Linked DNA regions of Homo sapiens: region 2 is linked to region 1. Evidence: promoter capture Hi-C in 16 types of primary human blood cells and fetal thymus (Javierre and others, 2016). All regions are on one chromosome and are shown on one strand. The core of a region is centred on a gene start or on the middle of the fragment in contact, and the rest is flanking DNA. Distances in the headings are between cores, read along the strand shown.

Region 1 (5,462 bases), core at 865-3,364:
ACCCCTGACTTATAGCCCTCTCAACCCAATGGAAATGTGACATGCAAATCTCTCCTGAAATTTGCCCCTGGGATTCCGGCTGAGGTGTTTAATTATAATGTCATTTGAATGACTTCTCAGGGTAGGGGAAGACAGACCGAGAGAGGGAGATAGTGGACAAAACAGTGCCTTCACTCTTTGTCCGAAGAGCCCGCTATGGCCACGTTATCATGTCCCCTGCAGGAGGAAAGCACACACGGGGTGCCCGTGCTGTGCAGTGTGAGCACACCAATGGCCTGTGCTTCTAGAACCTTATGATGTGTGGAGGAGAATGGGGAGGAGGAAGCACTTACAAAGGGGAAGTAGCCTGTACCCTGTCCTTCTCCCCCAGGTGTGGGGAATCCATGAAATAATGGAAGTAAATGAAGGTGCGTCAGAAATGGCAGAGGGTGCCATCACCCTAAATGGACGACACATTAACTCCAGGGCACCGCAGTCCTCAGGGTCAGTTCCCCGACTGGGGCAACTAAGCAACTGAAGGTTGCTCTTGTACTCAACACCTAACTCTTCTTGAAGGGAGCTCAAGCCAGGATGCTAGTGAACTTGGCTGAGGGCCATGTCGTGCTACAGCGAGGGTATGGGCTCCTGGATAGGAATCGAGCCCATGGAGAGCTTGGAATCCAGAAAAAGAGTAGTTTTTACTTACTTTAGGCTCTGCACACCTAAAACACAAATTTTATCCAAGAGTAATCAGTTGAAACATGAACTTGCCGGTTGTATTTGTCCATTATGAGCAATTTCACAAGGTTTGATCAAATAATAAACTAAATGGTGAGAAGGCAGCTTGGTAAAGTCTAAATCTTTTTGGTCCAGTTAGGAGCTGGGGTGGGGTGGAAGGGAACTGATATTCCCTGCGCACCTGCAGTATGTCTGGGACTATTACCAGTCATTTACGGAGCGCTTCCTCTGTGCCAGGTACTGGATTAGGCACTTCATTAAAGGCTCAGTGAGAACTGCGACCTGCCCATGCTCATGGAAAAGAGTCGTGGGGCTGGAATTCAGGTCCAGATCAGCATTAGGAACTAGCTTCCAAATGCTGAGGGCTCCCTCGCGTCCTCACACCTAGCGTGGAAGTGTTCCCTGGTGTACATTCTGCTGGGAGGGAGTGCAGCCCCTCCATTTAGGAAAAGCCTCTCCTGGCCTGGGTTCTGTTCCTTCCCTTTAATTTCCTCTGGGGACTGTCCTGAGAATGTAAGCTGCCCAGGTGCCGTCTGAGCCACCAGATGGGCCTGGGCTCACCCATGACTCATGGACCAGACTGAAGCCAACCCTCCATTTTCAGCTGGGGAAACTGAGGCCCAGACAGACGGTAGAGTGAGCTGGTGGTCATGTCTGGACAGAACTCAGGCCTCTGGACCCGCTGACGTGCACCCTTCCCCACGGCTCACAGCTGGCTGCTCCGAGGTGCCCTCAGAGTTCTGTGAGCATGACTCATCTGCCTCTCCCTCCCTGTGCGACCTGCAGAAGGAGCCTAAGGAAGAGGTGGCACAAGAAACGCGGCCCAGTGAAGGGGGCTCCGGAGCCTCGGAGCCCAGATCTTGAAGTGGAGGGGAAACCTTGGGCCTTCTCCTCCCAGGGAAGACGCCTTGCAGGCGGCACGCGGGAAGTCTCCGTTTCCGACAGGGGTCGCGGCCGCCGCGAGGGGTCCTGGACGCTTGCCCACCAGGGTACCCACCGGCCACTGGGAGCCCAGGGCACGCCCCACCGCAGTTCTGCCCTCCCTGACAGGGTCCTGGACACCCCCAGTCCTGTCCGGGCCGCCCCGACGGGCCCTCGGCGCCCCCGCCCAGGCCTCTGCCGTCCAAACCGGGTCCCGGACGCACCTCAGCCCGCGCTCCACCCGTGCCCCGCCCGCGCTCACCGCGCCACGCTCGAAGTCGTTGTAGAAGGGCTTGTCCAGCAGGTGCTTCTCGCTGCAGCCCGCCGAGCCCACGAGGCTGAGGTAGATGTAGTCGTCAGTGCCGGCGAACCACTGGCTGCCAGTGGCCACGGTGACCGTGTAGGAGGGCATGGCGCGGGCCGCGGGAGCAGCGAGCGCCGGGAGCCTCGGCGCGGCGGTCCAGGTGTCCGCATCTAGCGCCGCAGCCTCCTCCCACCACTGGTCCCTGGCCCCGGTCCCGGCCCCGCCCCGGTCTGGCTCCAGGCTCCCGGCTGCCCCCGCCCCCGCCCCCGCCCCCGCCCCCGCCCCCGCAGTACTTCTCTCCCACTCTTCACGCGGCGCCGACTGGGCGGGACCTCGCCTCGGGCGGGGCAGGGGCCTCGCTCCTGGGTCTCTCCTCAGCGAGGTGTCTGTTCCTGCAGCCAGGGGACTGGGGCAACCTCGGCTGCCACCCCTCATCCATTCGTTCACTCGTTCTCTCCTGAATTGCTTCCACCCTTTGCCCTGCCTGCCTGCCTCGGCTTCGCCCAAGGCCAGGCTCCTGTAGGCCCTGGGGTGGAGCTGCGGGGACTCCCTACAAATCTAGGCACAGCCTCTGCTCTCCCCAAGTTCTCAGTGCCACTTGCGGTACTTGGAGCAGGGGTGCTCCGGGAGTCTGCAGAGGAAGAGCGACCCATGAGAGAATCAGAAGGGCTTCCTGGAGGAGGCCACCCCAGCGCTGATACTGAGGATGGATTCTGGAGCACAGAGGCTCCTTCAGCGCGGGCTTCTTCACTGGCTGGACCTGCGGCTCCTGGCGGGGGCAGGCGGGCGCCGAGACCGCGCCCAGGCCCAGAGATGGCCAGTGGTCGCGGGAGGCAGGCGGGACGGCACATCTGGACATGCGGGGCTGTCTAGGGGAGGCCAGGGGTCACGGGTCGGCTCTCTGAATCGCGGCGGGCAAATGCCTGGAAGGGTGTGGAGAAGGTTTCGCGCGCTCCTGGGCGGCTTCCCGCGGCTGGGGCCTGACCCCCAGGTTCCCGCCCACTCCTGGCGCCCGCCTCTCCCAGCCCCGCCGGCAGCGCAGGGTCTGACGGGCACACAGTCGCGTGTATTGATCTCGGCTAAGTTTAAACACTAGCTCACCGTGCGTGGGGCGGCGGGGATGTGAAGTCCCCAAAGGCGGCTGCCTACATTCTCACCAACGCTTCATGTCTGTGAAGCAGCAGAGTCCCTGTAGCATCTCCTCATACTGTCTTGGGTTTGTGCACCTGGCAAATGGCTTTGAACATCTTTTCACATGCTTGTTGGATATCTGTATATTTTTGGAGAGATGTATATTCAGATGCTTGACTCTTTGGAAAACTGGGCTATTTATCTTTTTTATCATTGAATTGCATTATTTATATATCCTGGATAGAAGTCTCTAATCGGATACATGACTTACAGACATTTTTATTGCTTCTGCGGGTTGTGTTTTCACTTTCTTGATGATGTTTGAAGCACAAAAGTATTTAACTTTAAGTCCAATTTCTTTTGTCGCTTGTGATTTTGGGGTCCTATCTGAGAAACCACTGCCTACAATAACATCTTAAAGATTTACTCCTAGGTTTTCCTCTAGGATTATTATAGTTTTAGCTTTTCATTTACATCCGTGACCCATTTTGAGTTAGTTTTTATGCATGGAGCGATAGAAGAATTCAAATTCATTGTGTTGCATGTGCATGTCCGGTTGTCCATGCATCATTTGTTGAATTCATTATTCTTTTCCCATTGCGTTGTCTTGACACCTTATTAAAAAGTAATTCATTATAAACATAACGGTTTATTTCTGGACATTGATTCTAGTCCACTGATCTGTAATGTACATGCTATACAGTGCCACACTGCTTGATTACCGCAGTGCTATAGTAAGTTTTGAAATTGGAAAATGTTAATCCACCAACGCTGTTCTTTATTTTTCAATATTGTTTTGGTTATTCTGGATCCTTTGAGATTCCATATAAATTATAGAATCAGCTTGTCAATTTCAGCCAAAAAGCAAGCTAGGATTTTGATAGGGGTTGAGTTGAAGCTGTAGATCAATTTGGGGAATATTGTCACTTTAACAATATTAAGTCTTCTGATCCATAGAATATGTTTCAGCTTATTTAAATCTTTTCTTTTCTTTTCGACTCTTTGGAGTCTCCCTCTGTTGCCCAGGCTAAAGTGCAGTGGTACAATCTCGGCACACTGCAACCTCTGCTTCCCAGGTTCAAGTGATCCATTTACTTAAATCTTTTCTGATTTATTTCAAAATATTTTGTAGTTTTCAGTGCACTTTTTATTTCTAAATAATTTATGTTTGATACTATTGTAAATGGAATTTTAATTCATTTTGAGATTGTTAATTGCTAGTATATAGAAAAACACTTGATTTTTGTACATTCATTTTATATTCTGCAAACTTGCTGAACTTGTTTATTAGTTCTAATGGTTTGTGTGTGTGTACATGTGCACATTTTCTATATGCAAGATCATGTCATGAGCGAGTAGAGATAGTTTTACTTCTTCTTTTATTTGGAAGCCTTTTATTTCTTTTTCAGGGATAATTGCCCTAGCCAGAACCTCAGTACAAGGTCAAATGGAAGTGGCAAAAGCAGGCATCTTTGTCTTGTTCCTGGTTCAAGAGGTGAACACCCAGCCTTTCTGTATTAAGTTTGATGCTAGCTGGGGGTTTCCACAGATGCCATTTATCAGGTTGAGGGAGTTCCCTTTTATTTCTTTTGTTTTAAAGTGTTTTTATCATGAAATTTTCTGTATCAGTCGAGATACGAAATTTTTTCCTGTATGCTATATTAATATTATGATTATTTTCGTTTTAAAATATTTGATTGACAAATCAAAGTTTCTATTTCAAGGGGTAAAATGTGATGATTTGATATATGTATATATTGAATGCTGATTGTCACAGTCAAATTAACATATCTATCACCACCTATAGTTACCATTTGTGTGTGTGTATGTTGGGGGGGTGCTGGGGATGCTTAAAATCTGCTCTTATCCAATTTCAAGTAATAACGCAGTTATAAACTATAGTCACCATGCTGTACATTTGATCCCCAGAACTTATTCATCTTTTTTTTTTTTTTTTTTTTGAGACAGGGTTTCGCTCTGTCACCCAGGCTGCAATGCAGTGGCACTATCTTGGCTGACTGCAGCCTTGACTTTCCAATTTCAAATGATCCTCCCCCCTCAGCCTCCTGACTAGCTGGGACTACAGGTGTATGCCACCACTCCCAGCTGATTCTTTTATTTTTATTTTTTGTAGAGATGAGGTCTCACTTTCTTGCCTAGGCTGGTCTCAAGCAATCCCTCTGCCTCAGCCTTCCAAAGTATTGGGATTACCAACATGAGCCATCGCACCTGGCCTTCATCTCATAACTGAAAGTTTATACTCTTTGCCCAATATTTTGCTTCTTCCCCACATCCCCTAGCTCCTGATAAATACTGTTCTACTTATTCGTCTTCAAGTTTGAAATTTTTAGATTCGCATATAAATGAGATCATACAATATTTGTATTTC
Region 2 (5,462 bases), core at 1,206-3,705, 130 kb after region 1:
CAACCTGAGGAGTACTGGATGGCCAGATAACTACGACAGTGACATGGATTGCACCATTACTCTCACAGCCCCCCACAACCACACCCTCTTTTTTCATTTGTTTGGCATTGAGAACTCAATTGAATGCAGAAACGATTTCTTGGAGGTAATATGCATTTGAATATCATTTAAATGATGATGGATTTTACACCTTTTCTTTAGTGCTTCTAATGCTCTATGATTCTTACTTGTTTCATTAATTTATTCATTACCCTTTCATTCCCTAAACATTTACAGAGCACCAGTCCAAACACCGGAAATTGGGAACCTCAGGGCCCTCGGAAGACTCCTAGTCTGGTGGAAAGGACAGATGGGGTATAGCCAATTACAGCACAATGTGGAAAGGACTAACTGAGTCCAGCAGGGGTAGGGGTTCCTAACTCAGTCTGGGAACTAGAAAGCTTCTTTAAGAGGGCAATATGTAAGTTGAGACCTAAAAGGATCAGAGGAAAGTCTAAGAACAACAAGCTGATTCTGTAAAATGAAACTGAATGATACTAAATAGCTCACCTAATTTCCCTGACAGCTACAGTAAGTTTGGGGCATCGTCAACATCCTCTAAAGACAAGTGTTGCCTTGAAAAAGTGCTCCCTTGTTGCAGGAAGTGTGGTCTGTCCTTTTTCCACCACAACTCCAGAGCTCTCATTTGGACACAGAAGTGACTTTGCTGTTTGCCCATTCTCCACCCATTCACCCCCAACTCCCACCCCAGGACACACTGAGAGAGAAGCCCCCCTTGCACCTGGAGCAGGCAGAGCCATGCCCCTTGTGGGCCTGAACCTTTGGGGTCTTCCAGAGCCCCTGGTGAGCTCCCTCTGTGCTCTTTCTGCCACATCACCTGCATTGAGCATGTGAGATGGAACATGAATATCATTGCTCATAGGCAGGAAACGGTCTGAATAAGACTCATCTGATGCGGACCCAGTGTGTGGAACTCAGCACCTGTGTTTTGCCAGAAAACCCCCCAGAGCTCATGCGGTTGTGACCTTTGCAAGCTCTGTTGAAAATGCATTCATCCTTAGGAAATAAACTCAGGTGGAACCTGAGACTCAAAAGGATAAGGATGCTGAATTCCTCTGAGAGTGGAATTTAAATCTAAACCTCATCCCGATGCTCTCTAAACTGGCTTTGTTTCACCATACAAGAGGCTTCAGTAAGGTTTCCAAAAAGTTTGCTTGTTCCTCTACACCTGATCTGGAGTCGTATTTTTTGTTTTATTTTTTTTTCTCACTGCCTCTTTGATCAGGTCTTCATTCAAAATAAGCTTCCCAAGATGATTTGATCTTTGTAGCATAAACAAATGTACTGGTGTATGCAGCAGGCTTCTTTCCTTCTGTGGGAGGATTCTTTCCAGTGGGCTTCTGTTCAGCTGCTAGTTTCTTGGTAGCTGCAGCCTTTGTTCCCAACAAAACATCTTTTCTCACCTGCAACCCACCTCATCTGATTTGGCTTCTAGGGCTGCTGTCACCTTCTGCCCGGCCTGGTGAGGAAGGGTGTTCTGGCACATGGTCTTTGCCTATGGGTTTAGCTTCAACATGATTCTTGATGCAGTTTTATCATCCTGGAAAGCTCTCCCCTTTGGAATTCATCTAAATCCTTTATTAATCAATAGCCTTAACATGTAGTTTCATAAATAACACTCAGAGGAAGCTCATGCCTTTTCTAAAGGAATATTCCCATGACAGGAAACCAAAAGATGTATGTAGCAGGGAGGAAACGAAGAGACAAATACAGTATTCTTTGTGCCGGTCAGGTTACTCAACTTGGACCTACGTACCTCCCCCACCACGGAGATCCATATATTTATATGAAGTGTAAAGCAGAAAGAATGAGGAGAGTGGGATCTGGATGAAAGATGGAATAATCCCGTTAGGTTGGAGTCACAGTGCAACTAACTCTTAACTCACTCCAGCTTGAATGGACCATTATTGATCAGAGTCAACATTTGCCATTTGCCTGATAGATGCTGGGAAGCAAAGCCTTGCTTTCCAGCCATGGACAGTAAGAACTCTTCCTCCTCGCTGTCCTTCATTACTCCGTAGAATGGATCTGAAACTTCCTGTCCCATAAGCAAAGAAAGGAAACCACAGCTTAGGCCTGTAAAATGTAGCTCCGTCTGGCTCTCGGTGGGAAGACTGTGGGCATAGTTTATTGGCAGCTGGACCAGGAAGCCTCAGCATTCCATTCTTGTGAACTGCCGTAGGAACAGAAATGTCTGACTGAGGATTCTGTGTTACTACCAAGTGAGGGCCGAGCTCTAGACCATGCCTGGAATCTGCGATTGTTTTCATGCCTTCACCTCCCCTTCCAGGATCCTCTGATGTCGCAGGGATGCCCGCTGCTCTCGGTGGCCCCATTCCTCCTAGGAGACGAAAGTGAATAAGACAAGTTGTTGGCAGTGTCCGTGAAAATTAGTATCTCACTGCTCCTCTCAGAGCAACGCCATTTTAAAAGAGGACCCCTGGGTGAAAACACCCAAACTCAAGGGTATGGTGCTGGAAGGTCTTAAATATGGCAGCCCTCCTATCTACTAGTGGATAACTGGCTACTCTGTCATGGCAAGTCTACTTTATTTAAACACTTAGCAGAATAATCCCTGAAGCACTAGAAAGGCATTAGTCTCTCCCATGGGCTACTACATAGACCTAAAAGGAATCTCACCTGATCAACACAGCCCAGCAAGATTAGACTGTCTTAACTCTGTGACTTAAGATACCAGCAATTAACCAAATTTTAAATCATGGAATTACAAAGGGAAGAGAGGAACTTCCAGTGTTTTGAATACATGGATCAGTAAAATCAGCATTTCTACATGTCAGGCTGGTTCCAACATACATTGCCTGTGTAACGTTTCCTTTAGAAGCGTCGAGAGCCCTCCTGGAAGCAGGTCTAGTTGTGAATGCAGGGTAGGAGCCAGGCTGGGGGACAGAAAATGGTTGAATTCACAGTGTGGTTCTCTCTTCCCTCAAAACACCAACTCATTTCCTGTTTTTATATGTGTCTATTCAAAAATGAGGAGTTGAAACAAAAAAGCAACAAGGCCTCGGAATGTGTTTTTAAAACACGTTTAACAACAGTCAGAAGTTGTATAGATTTATAATTCTGTCCTTCACCCATACAGAAATTCCTTTTGTTCTGAACTTTATTATACTTTGCATTGTATTTTCTTCGTAGCCCCTTTACAGCCAAGTAATTTTCAATGGGAAACCCGTGTGCGCGCGCACTCATACACACACACACACACACTATGAAAAATGTATAATAGTTGACTGGAAACAGGGCAGGCAACATTGCCCCCACCCATCCCCACCCTTTAAAAATTCACTTTACCTACATTCTTCCAAATGTTTCCCCAAAAGCAAAGGCTGCAGGATCATAGCAAAAACTATTATATAAAAAAGCAGCCTGATGTTTTAATTGCTACAGGTTAACAGATATTTCTGAATCCAAATACAAATGTTTTTTGATCTACACATGGAACATTTTTCCCCTTTGCAAGTGAAGATGACTTCTGCATGTATTTTCAGAAAACCCTTCATTCTTATGTATATAAAAAGACAAAGCTTTTCCAAAAAGTGTCATCATTCAAATTGTCTCACAGTGTAATGTATATACATTGGAGAAGAAAGTGTAAGTTTAATAATGAATGACTCCTTCCTAAAGGTGAGAAATGGAAGTAACAGCAATTCACCATTACTTGGCAAGTACTCTGCTGCCAAACCCTGTCTTCTCTCAAAATAATGAACTATACCTATGATTTAAGAGTAATAGTGTAATTTCGGATCGTGGATATGAAATCATCTGGACCTCATCACCCTCTGGTAAGACATTTGTACTTTGTACGGGAAAGCAGTGTAGGTGAGTAAAACATAAGGTGTCTAATAGAAAAAGGCAAAGTAACCTTATATTTTTTAGCTACCTGTGTAACTGATTAATTCATGTTAAGAATAGAGATTTTTAACAATGAAGGTACAAATTATTTTGTTGTTGTTGTTGTTGAGATGGAGTCTTGCTCTGTCGCCCAGGCTGGAGTGCAGTGGCACGATCTCAGCTCACTGCAACCTCTGCCTCCTGGGTTCAAGTGATTCTCCCACCTCAGCCTCCCTAGTAGCTGAGATTACAGTTGCATGCCACCATGCCCAGCTAATTTTGTATTTTTAGTAGAGACGGGGTTCTGCCATGTTGGCCAGGCTGGTCTTGAGCTCCTGACCTCAGGTGATCTACCCGTGTCGGCCTCCCAAAGTGCTGGGATTACAGGCATGAGCCACTGCACCTGGCCAGATTACTTTAAATTCTACATTTATTCATTATTTCTGTTTATAAAATAATATATATTCATATATGAAGCACATATAAGGTATGAAGATTTAAAAATTCCTTTGTAAATTCAATTTTGTTAGACTTTTTGACTGTTGGTTTGACCATCAAGGAAGTTCATTGACAATTTAAGGAAAAATATTTACCAAAAATCCAACTTATGAACACATTCTGGCATATATATGAATGGTTGTGCTTCTCACAGGCCCTGACATTTGTTGGCAGTCCTGGAGAGAAATTGCTTTTTTAGGGTAGTAAGTATCCTCTCATATTTTTGGTTGGCCACTTTTCAAACAGCTAAAGAAAATTTAAGTCATGTCAATACATTTAATGCAAGAGAGGAGAAATACCTTTATGAAATGTCCTCAAATACCAACATACATTCCAAATAAAAAAAGATAAACAGAAATCACTTTAAATACCTTAAGAAAATGGTTCTATTAAGATAATCGTGGGTAATGGAATTTTGGCACCCAAAGGAAGACAAAGATGACTTCCAATGCTCAAATTTTATCGACGAGGAAATAAAACACCAAGATTAGGCTGGGTGTGGTGTCTCACGCCTATAATCCCTGGGAGGCCAAGGCAGCTGGATCACCTGAAGTCAGGAGTTCCACACCAGCCTAGACCACATGGTGAAACCCTGTCTCCACTAAAAATACAAAAATTAACTGGACATGGTAGTGCATGCCTATAATCCCAGCTACTTGGGAGGCTGAGACTGGAGAATCACTTGAACCTGGGAGATGGAGGCCGTAGTGACCTGAGATCACACCACAGCACTCCAGCCTGCGTGACAGAGCAAGATTCTATCTCAAAAAAACCCACCAAGATTAATGAGTTGCCCAAAATGCTCTGCTAGACTGAGGTGGAGATGGGACTAGACCTCGGTGGTCAAAGGCCCAGCCAGGTGCTCCGTAACTATGACAGCCAGCTTCTTCCTGTCCTGGAGGCGATCTGGATCTCCACAGATATGTAGTCTATATGTAGTCTAAATCATGACAGCCTTCATATACAGATTAACAAATTGAACAAATTAACACCAAAACTTGAAGTATTCGACCTTAAGTATGTCAGTTATTAGGGTGGTAAAGTTACTTTTATAA

Evidence for each region. Contacts are between HindIII fragments. The CHiCAGO score rates a contact against its expected background, and 5 or more counts as called.
Region 2: a fragment that was not itself captured here is called in contact with the fragment with the promoter of ALOX5 in region 1 in 1 of 17 cell types (neutrophils); the score reaches 7.3 in neutrophils.

What each region holds. Positions count from the first base shown.
Region 1 is chr10:45,370,868-45,376,329 of GRCh38, reverse strand. ALOX5 (arachidonate 5-lipoxygenase) reads right to left here and starts at 2,114. Exons shown (of 14, transcript NM_000698.5): 1 at 1,901-2,114. The coding sequence starts at 2,050. RefSeq lists enhancers at 1,127-1,735, 1,736-2,346. The HindIII fragment of the contact is 7,754 bases long and covers 1-5,462 here.
Region 2 is chr10:45,236,616-45,242,077 of GRCh38, reverse strand. It overlaps the pseudogene CUBNP2. Among named protein-coding and RNA genes, the nearest start is that of MIR3156-1, 75 kb to the right of the region's middle. The HindIII fragment of the contact is 2,299 bases long and covers 1,306-3,604 here.